Linked DNA regions of Homo sapiens: all the other regions are linked to region 2. The links are contacts of gene promoters, found by promoter capture Hi-C in blood cells and fetal thymus (Javierre and others, 2016). All regions are on one chromosome and are shown on one strand. Each heading gives the region's core, a stretch centred on a gene start or on the middle of the fragment in contact. The rest is flanking DNA. Distances are from core to core; before and after follow the strand shown. Region 1 overlaps MON2 (MON2 regulator of endosome-to-Golgi trafficking). Region 2 holds the start of MON2-AS1 (MON2 antisense RNA 1). Region 3 has its middle 33 kb from the start of MON2. Region 4 has its middle 17 kb from the start of MON2. Region 5 overlaps MON2 (MON2 regulator of endosome-to-Golgi trafficking).

The links. The method cuts DNA at HindIII sites, captures the fragments that hold promoters and counts their contacts. A CHiCAGO score of 5 or more calls a contact.
Region 1: a contact is called between a fragment that was not itself captured here and the fragment with the promoter of MON2-AS1 in region 2, in 3 of 17 cell types (total B cells, naive CD4 T cells and naive B cells). The highest score is 6.3, in total B cells.
Region 3: a fragment that was not itself captured here is called in contact with the fragment with the promoter of MON2-AS1 in region 2 in 2 of 17 cell types (naive B cells and total B cells); the score reaches 6.3 in naive B cells.
Region 4: a fragment that was not itself captured here is called in contact with the fragment with the promoter of MON2-AS1 in region 2 in 1 of 17 cell types (total B cells); the score reaches 5.2 in total B cells.
Region 5: a contact is called between a fragment that was not itself captured here and the fragment with the promoter of MON2-AS1 in region 2, in 8 of 17 cell types (total B cells, naive B cells, naive CD8 T cells and 5 more). The highest score is 8.0, in total B cells.

The regions. Positions count from the first base shown.
Region 1 is chr12:62,538,046-62,540,745 of GRCh38, forward strand. It overlaps MON2 (MON2 regulator of endosome-to-Golgi trafficking), which reads left to right. Exons shown (of 35, transcript NM_015026.3): 17 at 51-131; 18 at 207-280; 19 at 370-460. Among named protein-coding and RNA genes, the nearest start is that of MON2-AS1, 54 kb to the left of the region's middle. The HindIII fragment of the contact is 3,550 bases long and covers 1-2,700 here.
Region 2 is chr12:62,483,649-62,486,348 of GRCh38, forward strand. MON2-AS1 (MON2 antisense RNA 1) reads right to left here and starts at 1,294. Exons shown (of 2, transcript NR_186172.1): 1 at 1,121-1,294. MON2 (MON2 regulator of endosome-to-Golgi trafficking) reads left to right here. Exons shown (of 35, transcript NM_015026.3): 2 at 522-585. The HindIII fragment of the contact is 7,471 bases long and covers 802-2,700 here.
Region 3 is chr12:62,432,444-62,435,143 of GRCh38, forward strand. No RefSeq gene overlaps it. Among named protein-coding and RNA genes, the nearest start is that of MON2, 33 kb to the right of the region's middle. RefSeq lists an enhancer at 2,666-2,700. The HindIII fragment of the contact is 2,366 bases long and covers 265-2,630 here.
Region 4 is chr12:62,448,701-62,451,400 of GRCh38, forward strand. No RefSeq gene overlaps it. Among named protein-coding and RNA genes, the nearest start is that of MON2, 17 kb to the right of the region's middle. The HindIII fragment of the contact is 5,138 bases long and covers 1-2,700 here.
Region 5 is chr12:62,521,963-62,524,662 of GRCh38, forward strand. MON2 (MON2 regulator of endosome-to-Golgi trafficking) reads left to right here. Exons shown (of 35, transcript NM_015026.3): 9 at 2,553-2,677. Among named protein-coding and RNA genes, the nearest start is that of MON2-AS1, 38 kb to the left of the region's middle. The HindIII fragment of the contact is 403 bases long and covers 1,074-1,476 here.

The sequences.
Region 1 (2,700 bases), core at 22-2,521, 54 kb after region 2:
TTTTATACTTTTGTAAAGTTATTTGTTTTGATTTTTTTTTAATTTTACAGCATCTTGTGTGGATTCTGGGATTAAAGCCTAGTAGTGGCGGTGCCTTGAAACCTGGGAGAGCTGTAGAAGGACCCAGTACAGTAAGCTCTAGTCTTTCTTACCCAATTAGTGCATCCCAAAGTGTCATATATTACATTTAATTTTATTCTTCTCAGGTTCTAACAACAGCAGTGATGACAGATTTACCAGTGATTTCCAATATACTTTCAAGATTGTTTGAAAGCTCACAGTAAGAGTCAGTTTTTTTAATTGATAAAAACATTGTTATTTGTTATATATTTTAGATCAAGATGTCTTATTTCTTCATTTCCTTTTTAGGTATCTTGATGATGTATCACTGCATCATTTAATAAATGCACTTTGCTCCTTGTCTCTAGAAGCAATGGATATGGCCTATGGAAATAATAAGGTGTGATATTCTACCTTTCTGTTTTAGATATGATACATTAGTTATATAAGATGTACATCCATTATGATCTTAGTGTTTTACTAGTAGAACTAACACTCAGATTGTATGGTAACCATACTCTGTTGGGTTTTTACCACTTATCGTTATTTGTCGAAGGAGTAAAAAGGACATGATTTGGCTTGTGATATGTCTAAATATGTCATATGATTTTAAGTTGTGTTCATTTCTCTTATATACTGAACATTTTAAAAATATTTTTATAAAATAATATAATACAGTTTTATAGGTTATATAAAATGTCATGATAATACTTGTAATTACAATTTATGATTGGGGTAATATAAGATTTAAATTAAAGAATGTTTGTCTCAGTTTCCTTTGCTTTCATTGGGATGGAAAGTAAGGAGCTAATCATTTCTTTCTAAAGGTAATGATTCTCCTTATCTTGAAAATTTAAATTTTTATTTGTTCATTGATTAAATGAATAAAACGGTACTTTTGAATATTAACATTCAAGAACATTTCTTTCTATACTACTAAAAATATCACTTTCTGTTATACTTGGAAAGCACAGGAACAGTTGTATTTATTTATATGTTAGAAATAATTAAACAAAATACTTTCCACATTTTAAAATCAATAAATATAGTTTGACTATTTACAAATAAGTGAAAATAACCCAAAATATGATTTAAAAGCTAAAATTTATATAATTTAAAGCTATAACATGTAACTGTAGCATTCAAAATTATGTTGTCTGCCTAGTCTTTTTTTTTTTTTGAAACGGAGTCTCGCCTTGTCGCCCAGGCTAGAGTGCAGTGGCGCAATCTCGGGTCACTGCTCTGCCTCCCAGGTTCATGCCATTCTCCTGCCTCAGCCTCCCAAGTAGCTGGGACTACAGGTGCCCGCCACCACGCCCGGCTAATTTTTTTATTGTATTTTCAGTAGAGACAAGGTTTCACTGTGTTAGCCAGGATGGTGTCGATCTCCTGACCTTGTGATCCGCCCGCCTCAGCCTCCCAAAGTGCTGGGATTACAGGCATGAGCCACCGCGCCCGGCCATCTGCCTAGTCCTTAAGTGTAATTTTGGGTACTGTGGCTTGTTATCTTGGCTCTTATGACTCATTTAAAGATTGGTGAAGAAAGTCTCATTAGAGCATAGTTTCATATATTATAGTACCTAGCTAGATAATTATATAAACATGCAGGTGTTTGAAAGTATGTATTATGGCTGGGCATGGTGGCTTACGCCTGTAATCCCAGCACTGCAGGAGGCCGAGGCAGGCAGATCACTTGTGGTCAGGAGTTCGAGACCAGCCTGGCCAACATGGTGAAACCCCGTCTCTACTAAAAATACAAAAATTAGCTGGACATGCTCAGTTGAACCCAGGAGGCGGAGGTTGCTGTGAGTCGAGATTGTGCCACTGCGCTCCAGCCTGGGCGACAGAGCAAGACTCTGTCTCAAGAAAAAAAGAAAATATATATTATAGTTTGTTCTAAATCAGGGCAAGGATAATATATAATGAAGTAATTAATTTTTTGATACCTTTAATAATTCTACATATTTGAGATTCTTAACACAAAACTATAATATTTTTAATAAAGTACCTTAATGAAATCTAAGCAAGTTTATATGGTAATGTTTTCAGAATCTATGTATTTATTCAATAAGCACAGTAGGCTTACTGTGTACATGACGATCTGCTCAGAGACATTAAGAAATAAGAGGTTTCTACTTTCAAAGAGTATATAAGCTACTTGGTTCATAGTTAGTGACAATTACTATGGTATGAGAGTCTCAATAAATAATACAGATATTAAATGACATGAGACTTACTCTCTGAATTTTTAGTTCCTTGTTATATAAGATGTTATTGGTATATGTTTCTATTAAGATGAATTAAGATTAATCAAGATGAACTAGTGTGATTGGAGATGTATATTGAAAGATTGGTAGGATTTAGGTAGGAAAGGGCAGGTTAATGTAAATCAAAAGAAAAATATTGTAGGAAATCATGACCTATAAGAAAAAAATAGGAGATTTGATGATTAATCATTTATTTTTAACTTTCAGTAGTGCAATTTCAGAGAGTGGTAGCAACAGATACGATTTTTAAGGAAGGCTTGGGAAGAACAGTTGTGGAGAAAATGGATACGCTGAGTAAAATAGAGATAATTTCTTTGAAAATGGATTTACATGTCTCCCTTTTAGGATTTAATTTTGTAAAGTGAAGTAAATA
Region 2 (2,700 bases), core at 44-2,543:
GAGGTTGTAGTGAGCCAAGATCGTGCCATTGGACTCCAGCCTGGGCAACAAGAGCAAAAAACTCCATCAACAATAAATAAATAAATCCAACACAGTAGTTTTACTTGATTTTGCAGTGTTCTATAATTTTTTTGTGTGTGGTGGAGAGAGAGGAGGCTTGAAATGGGGAAAAGGAGCCTAATTATTTTCAGTAGATTTTGTTTTTGTTTGTTATTTTTATTCTCGGAAAATTTAACTTTGCAGGGGATTGAGGTATTCCAGATAATGCCTTAAGGCAGAGGAAGGCAACATGTTGTAGTGCATTCAGAGTTTGCATGTGAATAATCAAATTAATCATGTTTTATTACATTTAACGTATATGTCACTACTGGGCTTAGTATCTGATGGTTTGAAAATTAAAAAGGTGGTAGGGTAGTGACTGACTTTGTGCTTGATATTTTGTCTATCACATATGACTTATTTTCCATAGATAATTCATTTTGGCAGTAAATTTTGTGTTCTAATTATTTTTATTCTTGCAGGCTGCTGAATCAGGAATAATAAAAGTTAAAACAATTGCTGCACGAAACACTGAAATTTTGGCAGGTAATTTTTTGTATTAAAAATTTAATAATAAACAAAAATTTGACTAATAGTAAAAGTAGAATCTTTATTGTAAAAGCCATCAGTTTTCTGTAACATCTCTTCCTCATGCCCTAACATATGCTATTCATAATGAAACAGAATGGGCAAAAGTCCATAACTTATGAACTGACTGTATTTCCCAGAGACGAATGCTACAAAAATTCTCTGAAATCAGAAAGCTTAACACTACTGACTCCTTAAAGGCAAGGAATTTTTTCTTACTCATCTTCGCATTCTCCTCCACTTCCTGCTAATCACCTGAGACACACCATAAAAAGCATTCAGTAATATTTGTTCCATTGTATTGAATGAAAGATTTGTTCTCAGTCCACCTTCTGTGATCTACTTTCTCTTTAATATAATACGAACAGTTCATAACATAGTCTTCTGTATTTAGTTGTACCGTATGAATTTTGAGTCTTGGGATTAAGGCAGTATGATCATGAAAAAAGAATGAGAGTGAAGTAGAGAAAAGAAAACAAAAATGTTTTCTTACCTTCTCTTGATTGAACCTGATTTTCAAGGAGGAATTTTCAGGAGTTTCTCTTTGGCATCCTTCTTTTCTACCCAGTCCACTCCTTTCTCTTCCTTGGTGCCTTTTGTTCTTGCCTCAATAATGAACATGGAAAAGAGGTAAACTGGCTTTTTTTTTTTTTTTTTTTTAAGAATCTGTTATATGCAAGGCACTTGTGTCATTCTATCTTACATAACAACCTTGTGGGGAAATATTATCTTATTTGATAGTAGAGCTAATTGAGATGTGAAGAGGTTAAGTTACTTGCCCAAGGTCACAGGAAAGGTGATAGAACCAGATTAAAATCCAGGAGTGTTCAGGAGCCCATGTTCTTCCTGCTACAGTGTGCTACCATGGTATCACCAGGTTTCCACGTTAGCCACTTACTCCCAAGTATTACATATGTAACCAGTGCTTGCTTCAGTGATCCTTTAATCTGCATTTCCAGTTCCAGTAGTGCTGTTGATCTCAGCTAATCTATGAGGAAAGTAGTCCTATTAAATTAATTTACAGAGTCCAAATAGTAAATAATCTCTTTAACTTTCATATACTTTACATTTTTTAAAAGGGATACCAGTAAATCTGTAACTGGTGGGATTTCAGAGTGTTATGAAATGAAATTAAGATTTTTGGGGTCAGATTAAGGATCGGGGGCAAGAGTGGATTTCACTTAGGCTATCCAGCTTTGCTGGAAATTTGCCCTTAGCATAAGCGCTCCTCAATTACATCTGTTTCCCACAGCTTTTTCCCTGATTTTGAACAGTCTTATCAAAACACCCAATAGTTTTATAACATTATGCACAGAAGTAAATAATGCTCTGTGTGCATATTGAGAAGTGGTATAGTGAAAGTGGTGGGTAAAGGCAGAGGTGCACATGGTAGGGTTAGGAAGGCTGGCAAGTGGGTTTTTTTTGTTTGTCTGTTTGTTTTTCCTGAGATGGACTTTTGCTCTTGTTATCCCAGCTGGAGTGCAATGGTGTGGTCTCGGCTTACTGCAACCTCTGCCTCCTGGGTTCAAGCGATTCTCCTGCCTCAGCCACCCGAGTAGCTGAGATTTCAGGTGCCCAACACCACATCTGGCTAATTTTTGTATTTTTAGTAGAGACAGGGTTTCATCATGTTGGCTAGGCTGGTCTCGAACTCCTGACCTCGGGGTTCTCCCGCCTCGGCCTCTCCAAGTGTTGGGATTACAGGCGTGAGCCACTGCGCCCGGCCAGCATGTGGGTTTTAATGGGAGATGTACATTAGGCAGATTAGCTACTGTGGGGAAATTGGTGTTTAAAGAAAAATGATGACCTGGATATTTTTATGTTGGAGACTTACCATAGGCCAATCGTATTAGAATATCACTGTAAATATTTAAAATATTTACTGTTGCTAATATCATTGTTGATACCGTGGTAAGTCCTTAATTATTCTCCAATAATACAAATTTTTATTGGTTTTATAGTTTGTGGAAGACTTTTTTTAAAAAAAGACTGATTTCCTCAGAGGATCACTGTTATTCCAGCATTCTATCCCAAGTAAAATGTCTAATAAATTACTCTTAAGATGAGTAAGAA
Region 3 (2,700 bases), core at 198-2,697, 51 kb before region 2:
ACAAAATAACACAATTTTAAAATGGGCAAAGGGCTTGAAAAGACATTTCTCCAAAAAAGACATTCTACCCAATGTCACATGCTTTGAGTTCCCAGCCCCAAGTGAATGCCAGTCACGGTTTCCTTTACTCTTTCGGGATGATTTTTTCTTCCAGACTCAACTTCTTTTCTCACACTTATGCCCTGACCAGTACCCTGAAGGGTGTATCCTCAGCAGATCTGCTCTTTGTGAAGAAAATCTCCACTCCAAGCACTCTGCCCTGCAAGCTTGAGGTACCTTGGTTTCCTTGGACTATCAACTACATCTCTCAACCCAGGATGTTCACTACACTCCATCCCATTTCTCTTTCTCTGCACTATAGCCTGCAAACTCTCAAGGCAGTAAGCTGAGGAAATCATAGAGCCCTACTACTTACTTCCCATCTCTCAGTGATGACTGTCTTTTGTTGACTGATGCCCAATATTATGAGAAATGCTATTTCATATATTTTATCTGGTTTATTTTTGGTTGTTTTTGGCAAGAGTGTAAATCCAGTCCCTGTTACTCCATCTTGGATTGAAATAGAAATCTAGACTTCTTTATGTAAGAGAAAAAAAAAATCCTGATTTAATTCAGTGTTATTTGAGTATTCTGTAATATACAGACAAACCTAATCCTAACTCCTAACACTGAGTACTTGGATGAGGGGATTAAAGAAAGAAGTCTTCAGGCACCTCATGAGGCCAACTCTGTGGATTTGTGTCCAAATCTCCATCAATGAAAGTAATTTCTATGTCTCTTTTCCACAAGACTCCGGGGCATGTGAAGAGGACATTTTGAGACTGAGGGTATATACTGGGTGATCAGTTCAATTAGTGATGCCATTAACTGAGGAAGAAATACCTCCTAGAGCTGATTCAGGCATCCTAATAGTATATATATTCAAAAAGGTACAAAATTATACACAGAGCATCACTAAATACGTGGGTCTGAAGGTATTTTATATATGAATAAATAACATCACTATATTCAACCAATATTTCCTCTTGTTAAAGATGACATGCCCATAGATTTATTTACATTTTATTTTCTTTTTTAAAAGGAAAGGCTGGGCATGGTGGCTCACACCTGTAATCCCAGCACCTTTGGAAGTGGAGGCAGGTGGATCATCTGAGGTCAGGAGTTCAACACCAGCCTGGCCAACATGGTGAAACCCCGTCTCTACCAAAAAAAATACAAAAATTAGCCAGGCGTGGTGGTGCGCCCCTGTAATCCCAGCTACTCAGGGGGCTAAGGTATGAGAATTGCTTGAACCCGGGAGGTGGAGGTTGCAGTGAGCCAAGATCACGCCACTGCATTCCAGCCTGGGCGGCAGAGTGAGACCCTGTCTAAACAAAACAAAACAAAACAAAACAAAGAAAACTTCTCAAAGCACTTGTAAATAGTATTTGAAGGCATCACACTAGTGCAGAAGCATCTTCTGTTTGGTCAGTTAGTGGTTATTATAATCCTTCATCTCAAGATATGTAACTCTCAAGTTTAAACATAAAGAATATTTGTGCTTTCTATGCCATGTCTCTCTCTCTCTCTCTCTCTCTCTCTCTTTCTCTCTCTCTCCCTTTTTATTTATTTATTTATTTTTTTGACACGGAATCTTGCCCTGTCACCCATGCTGGATTGCAGTGTCACGATCTTGGCTCACTGCAACCTCCGCCTCCTGGGTTCAAGGGATTATCCTGCCTCAGCCTTCCAAGTAGCTGGGATTACAGGTGTGCGCCACCATGCCCAGCTGATTTTTGTGTTTTTTAGTAGACACGGGGTTTCACCATGTTGGCCAGGCTGGTCTCGAACTCCTGACCTCAAGTGATCCGCCCACCTCAGCCTCCCAAAGTGCTCGAATTACAAGCGTAAGCCACCGCTCCCGGCCGCCTGTCTCTTTTTAACAACTTAATTTTCTCCCAGTAATTTGAGGTGTGGGGAACTTTTATATTAAGGCAAAACTAAAGAAAGGAATAGATCTGTGTTTTCAAATTGAGGCGAACGTCACAGTAGAGTCACAGGATGAACACAGTACATCTTCTTGGAGTATCAGTTTTGCTCAGTGGTAACTATTTTAAAACCGTTTTATAGCAAAACAAACAGATCTCATAGAAAATACAATTCAAGACTTAATGAATTATTTTTAAGCTATAATAGAAAACTACTTCCCCAAGACCGTTTTGGGTCCTACAACCCACCCCACGCATGCTTTACCCTCCTCTGCCATTAGTTTCCCTTTAGTGCTCAAGTGTGAGTAGCACTGGATTGATGACGACGTTAGTTCTCCATTCTAGTGAGGTCGTCTCTGATATAATTAATATTTTTATCTAAGGCCGTTTTCCCTCTCTTTTTTTTTCGGGGTTTTACTATTACCCAAAGAGTGTCCACAGCGCCTGCCCAGAATCCCAGAACAAGGAGGTGAGCTGCAGAGTGACAATACAGGAAGGGCAGCTTCGCAGCTGTGTCTGAGTGGGGAAGCAGGTTCGCCGTGTCCTGGAGAACTTGCTCAGCTCCACAGCCTCCTCCATCCTCCCCTGATGTCTCAGGACTGGACTGAGACCAGACGCCCCTCTGGGCAAGTTTACCCAAGAAAATGGGCTTACACATGGTGAAGCTTGGAACCTAGCAGTTCCTACTCTGCTGTTTTCCAGGAATTAGCATTCCCTTATTAAAACTGTCCTC
Region 4 (2,700 bases), core at 77-2,576, 35 kb before region 2:
TGTGGAAATTTTGAAAAGCATACTGCGAGTCAACAAAACCAAGAGAAATGTGCACTGGGGATGTTGCTGGCCCAGAGAGGCCAAGCCATACCTACAGAGCAACTATATGCTTACAGTCAGTCTTAATTTTCAGGTGATCAAGAAGTGATGTTTTAAGCATTATATATATATATATATATATATATATATATATATATATATATTTTTTTTTTTTTTTTTTTTTTTTTTTTTTTTTTTAGATGGAGTTTTGCTGTTGTTGCCCAGGCTGGAGTGCAATGGCATGATCTCACCTCAATGCAACCTCTGCCTCCAGGGGTTAAAGCAATTCTCTTGCCTCAGCCTCCCAAGTAGCTGGGATAACAGGCACATGCCACCATGCCTGGCTAATTTTGTATTTTTAGTAGAGTTAGGGTTTCTCCATGTTGGTCAGGCTGGTCTTGAACTCCTGACCTCAGGTGATTCGCCTGCCTCGGCCTCCCAAAATGCTGTGATTACAGGTGTGAGCCACTGTGCCGGGCTGCACTTTATATTCTTACAGTACTGTTTGTTCATTTTTATGGATTTTTAAAATGGGTTTCGTATGGTTTAGGAAATTGATTTGGGGTTTGGCTTGATATGAAATGCATCAAAACTTTTCCTGGTTGGTGACTTCATTCATGACATCTGATTTTCAAAAACTGATTACAGAGATTAAGCAGGAAATGCCTATATTAAGGGACTTAAATCCAAAAGTGTAATAAAAAAATTATTTGGCTGGGCGTGGTGGCTCACACCTGTAATCCCAGCACTTTGGGAGGCCGAGGCGGGTGGATCACTCGAGGTCAGGAGTTCAAGACCAGCCTGGCCAACATGGTAAAACCCTGTCTCTACTAAAAATACAAAACTAACTGGGCATGGTAGCACATGCCTGTAATCCCAGCTACTCAGGAGGCTGAGACAGGAGACTCGCTTGAACCCAGAAGGTGGAGGTTGCAGTGAGCCGAGATCGAGCCACTGCACTGCAGCCTGGGCGACAGAGTGAGACTCCTCAAAAAAAAAAAAATCATTATAATCAAGTTTATCCTAAGACTGCAAACATAGTCCATACCAGAAAAGTCTAGCAATATAACTTCTCCCTAATATTCTAAAAGAAAAAATTACATGATAAACTCACTAGATTCTTAAAATAATTACCACGGGCTTGGCCCCATGGCTCATGCCTGTAACCCCAGCACTTGGGGAGGCCAAGGCAAGCGGATTGCCTGAGCTCAGGAGTTCGAGACCAGCCTGGGCAACATGGCGAAACCCCATCACTACAAAAAATACAAAAATTAGCTGGGCACAGTGGTGTACACCTATAGTCCCAGCTACTCAGGAGACTGAGGCAGGAGAATTGCTTGAGCCTGGGAGGAGGAGGTTGCAGTGAGCCAAGATCACGCCATTGCACTCCAGCTGGGGCAACACAGCAAAACCTTGTCTCAAAATAAAATGAAATAAAATAATTCCCACATATACGCATATGCTAATTTTTTTTTAAAAAAAGCACTTTTAACAAAGAAACAGACTAGAAGGAAACTCCCTCATCTTGACAAAGGTGTAATACCAAAAACAGAGCAAACATAATACTTAATGGAAAAAAATTGAGATGCATTCACTTTAAGCTCAGGAAAACACAGGTTGCTCATATACAGCCATACAGTTTTCAGTGGTTTTGAAGGAGCTGGTAAGTTGTATAAGAAAAGAAGAAGAAAGGAGATGTAAGAATTGAAAAAAAAGATAAAGCTCTCATTATTTCTAGATGATGTAATCTATGTAGGAAACTCAGAATCAGTAAGCAAGCTATTTGATGAATACGAGTATCCAGAAAGATTGCCAGATACCAGATGAATTCATACAAATCATCCATATGAGCAATAATCAATGGAAAATATAATAGAACAAGCAAAAGTATCTAAGAATGTAACTTAAAACAGAAATTATGAAAAAATTATCTATGAAATTATCGATGAAAAAATATTTTAAATCTATTCAAAGTCATAACCAGCCTGGGCAATGTAGTGAGACCTCATCTCGACAACAACATCAACAATAATAACAGCAACAACAACAAATTAGGCGGTTGTCATGGCATGTCTGTGGTCCTAGCTACTTTGGAGGCTGAGATAGGAGAATGGCTTGAGCCCAGGAAGCTGAAGCTATAGTGTGTGGTGATTGCACCACTGCACTCCAGCCTGGGCAAAAGAGCAAGACCCTGTCTCCAAAAGAAAAAGTCAACAGAGCAAGACCCTGTCTCCAAAAAAAAGTCATAGGGAAGTATTTGAATAAATGGAAAGATATTTTATTCTCTTAAATGGGATAATATCTATATGTCTATATATCTAGATAGATAGATATTCTCCCCAAGTTAATCCATAAGTTTCATGCAATCCCAATCAAAATTTCAGCTGTAGCTTTTTTAAATAGAAATTCAACAGTCAAAAGTTATACAGAAGAACAGAGATCCTTATTTATCTTTTTCAGCTGTAAAAGAAGAACCACATGGGGAGGAGTTGCCTTAGCAGATATTAAGACACACAACAAGGTCATGAAGTAGAATGGGAGTAGGAAGGCCTGGGAGGTCTTGCAGGGGTAGAGGCATCTGATGCATATTATCTCAATACATTTCTTCACAACCCCGACTTTACAGTGGACATTTCAACCTCGCCCCATGGCTTTCTTAAG
Region 5 (2,700 bases), core at 25-2,524, 38 kb after region 2:
CGGGTGGATCACTTGAGGTCAGGAGTCCGAGACCATCCTGACCAACATGGCGAAACCCCATCTCTACTAAAAATACAAAAATTAACTGGGCATGGTGGCTTGTAATCCCACCTTCTCAGGAGGCTAAGGCACAAGAATCACTTGAACCCAGGAGGTGGAGGTTGCAGTGAGCCAAGACTGAGCCACTGTACTTCAGCCTGGGCAACAGAGTGAAACTGTCTCAAAAGAGAAAAAAAAAAGAGGCTAGCATATCTCTTTTCTGCCCTTGACTTACTGTTTTTAGAAAGGAATCAATGAGGCTAAATTGCCTTGTCCAAACTAATTTTCTACTTCTTCACAGACATTTCTCTAACAAAAGATCTCATCACTACCAAATCTATTAGCTCCAAGGTTGTTAACTCGGACAAGCTCCTGACAAATAGACTCCTACATGAATGTGCTACCAGATTTTCTTCATTGTCTGCCAAGTCAACTCTTACATACAGGATTCTTTAATAGATATCTATGTGATATTGAGATTAGAATGTCTACCTCAGTAACTTTGATTCATCTTAAGCCATCAGATGTCTCTTGACGTTTAGATAATAATCTACTACCAAAGTACTACAGGAGTTCAAAAACATTCATCACCCTTCATGTTGGTATAGTGGAGTTTATGACATATCTGGGTCACAAAAATTGGATTTATACCATAAGTGCTAATCTTAATACCTGTTTCCTTATAAGTGCAGCCACTTGGGGGAAAGTCTTAACAGATTCATAGTAGGTTTTCTCCATTGAGGCCCTTGTTCAGTGTTCAGTGCTCTCAACACTAGTTCTCTGCTCAAACTTTCACACTTGACAAGAAGAAACAAAAGGAGAACAAGGTTCTAGACTTCAGGAGAGAGCCTCTCTTTTTTACCCAAATCATAAGATTTTAGTGGTTCCAGTATAAATTGATAAATAATTGGTTTGTGTTATAGTCATTGTGTCATAGAGAAAAAATGATATGCTTTCAAGGCAAGTTTTATAATGTTATTCCTTCGGCTGTAATATACTTGATGTTTCTGAGATCCTTTGTATTCTTGCCTCAAAGCTTAGCTGATGAACCTTAAATTCATTCACACACACTTATATGCCACTTATGCCACTTGTAAAGCTGATATTGCACTTGTTGAAGGGCTTACTAATATTCAAACCCTCCAGTAGATAGAGCTGTTGTCCAATGAGTCACTAGCATGGGTCTTTCTTTCTCAGTTCTTCCTCTAAAGAGGTGTCATTTTGTTTAGAAAAAATAATGCCCTATTCATTTGCATGGCACTTTGTCATGTTTAGGGGATGTTTTTATTCTTACATTTTTCTCATTTGATTTCCCAGAAAGATGTAGATATTTTCATCCTTTATTTATAAGAAAGGCAACCATGCTTGTCCTTACGCACAAGGTTGCTGGATAAAGAAGTTGAGCCACCTGACTCCTGATCTAGTTCCTTTAAACTAAGCTTTATCATGTTTAGGACAATGACAAGCCTCTGCATATACTTACCCAGTCATTAGCAGTCTAAATGATAATGTTGTTTTTAGTTATTCCTCCTACTGTGTCATTATGATTATGTCCTTTTTTTAAGCATCCAGTTAAAGATACTGAAAGGCATTAGAAAATACTAGCAGCTAAGACTTTGCACTAAAAGCCTGAGGGCTACTATATTTCCCCAAATTTCTTGTCTCACATTATGGTTCACTCATTTTGAGATACCCCAGCTAAAACATCCAATAACTTGCTGTACCTAGTAGCAAGAATCAGTTTGGCCTAATAATCACCATGTCAGCTTAATTTTTACCTCCCAGAGGTCCTGCTGTATTGTCAATTAATAAGTAACAAAAACAATCCATTTACCTTTGGATGAACGGGTTAGCTTTTGTTTGTTCATTCAGTTATCAGACATGTAATGATTAATGCCTTGGGTGTGCCTTGAACATTATTTATTTATAAAGAGCTTGCTGAGAAATGGTCTATATTAGCAACAACAGTAATGATAATTAATACTTAATTAGCAGTACAGGCCCTGTTCTAATAGTTATATACTTTACATCTGTCAACTGCTATAGGTTCCTCCTTATTTTTCTACTATAAAATTTATACTAAGCACCCTTTGGCTTGCCTCTTTGTTTCTTTAGTAGCAAAAGAAAGTATGGAAAAAACTGCTCTGAAGAGTAGAACGTGCATCCTGTCAGCAGTTTATGTGGTACATGCTGTCTGGCAGTTTTTAGAAATGGAGATGGCATGATGGTATTATCTGCTTTCTAAAGAGCAAGGATAAAGGATTAACCGTATTAGCAGATTACTAATGTTTTCAGGTATATATTTAGAGAAACACTGTGATTATTTTTACTGTTAATGTTTCCATGTATAACTACATTTCCTTTCTCTGTTTCTCCACTCCCCATTAAGAGTTTGATTTCTAATCTAAAAGATTTTATTGGTTTGTCCATAGCACTAAGTTAAGAATAAGAACACAGTCTATAATTCTTCTCTTTGATTCAAAGAAATAGTATTAAAAATCATATATTTTTAGGTAACTGAATGTGAGATATTTCTGTCACTTCTGGTGAAATTTCTGGATGCAGATAAACCACAGTGGCTACGAGCTGTTGCGGTGGAATCAATACACAGATTCTGTGTGCAGCCTCAACTATTAAGGTAAAACCTCAGCAATAGTTTGT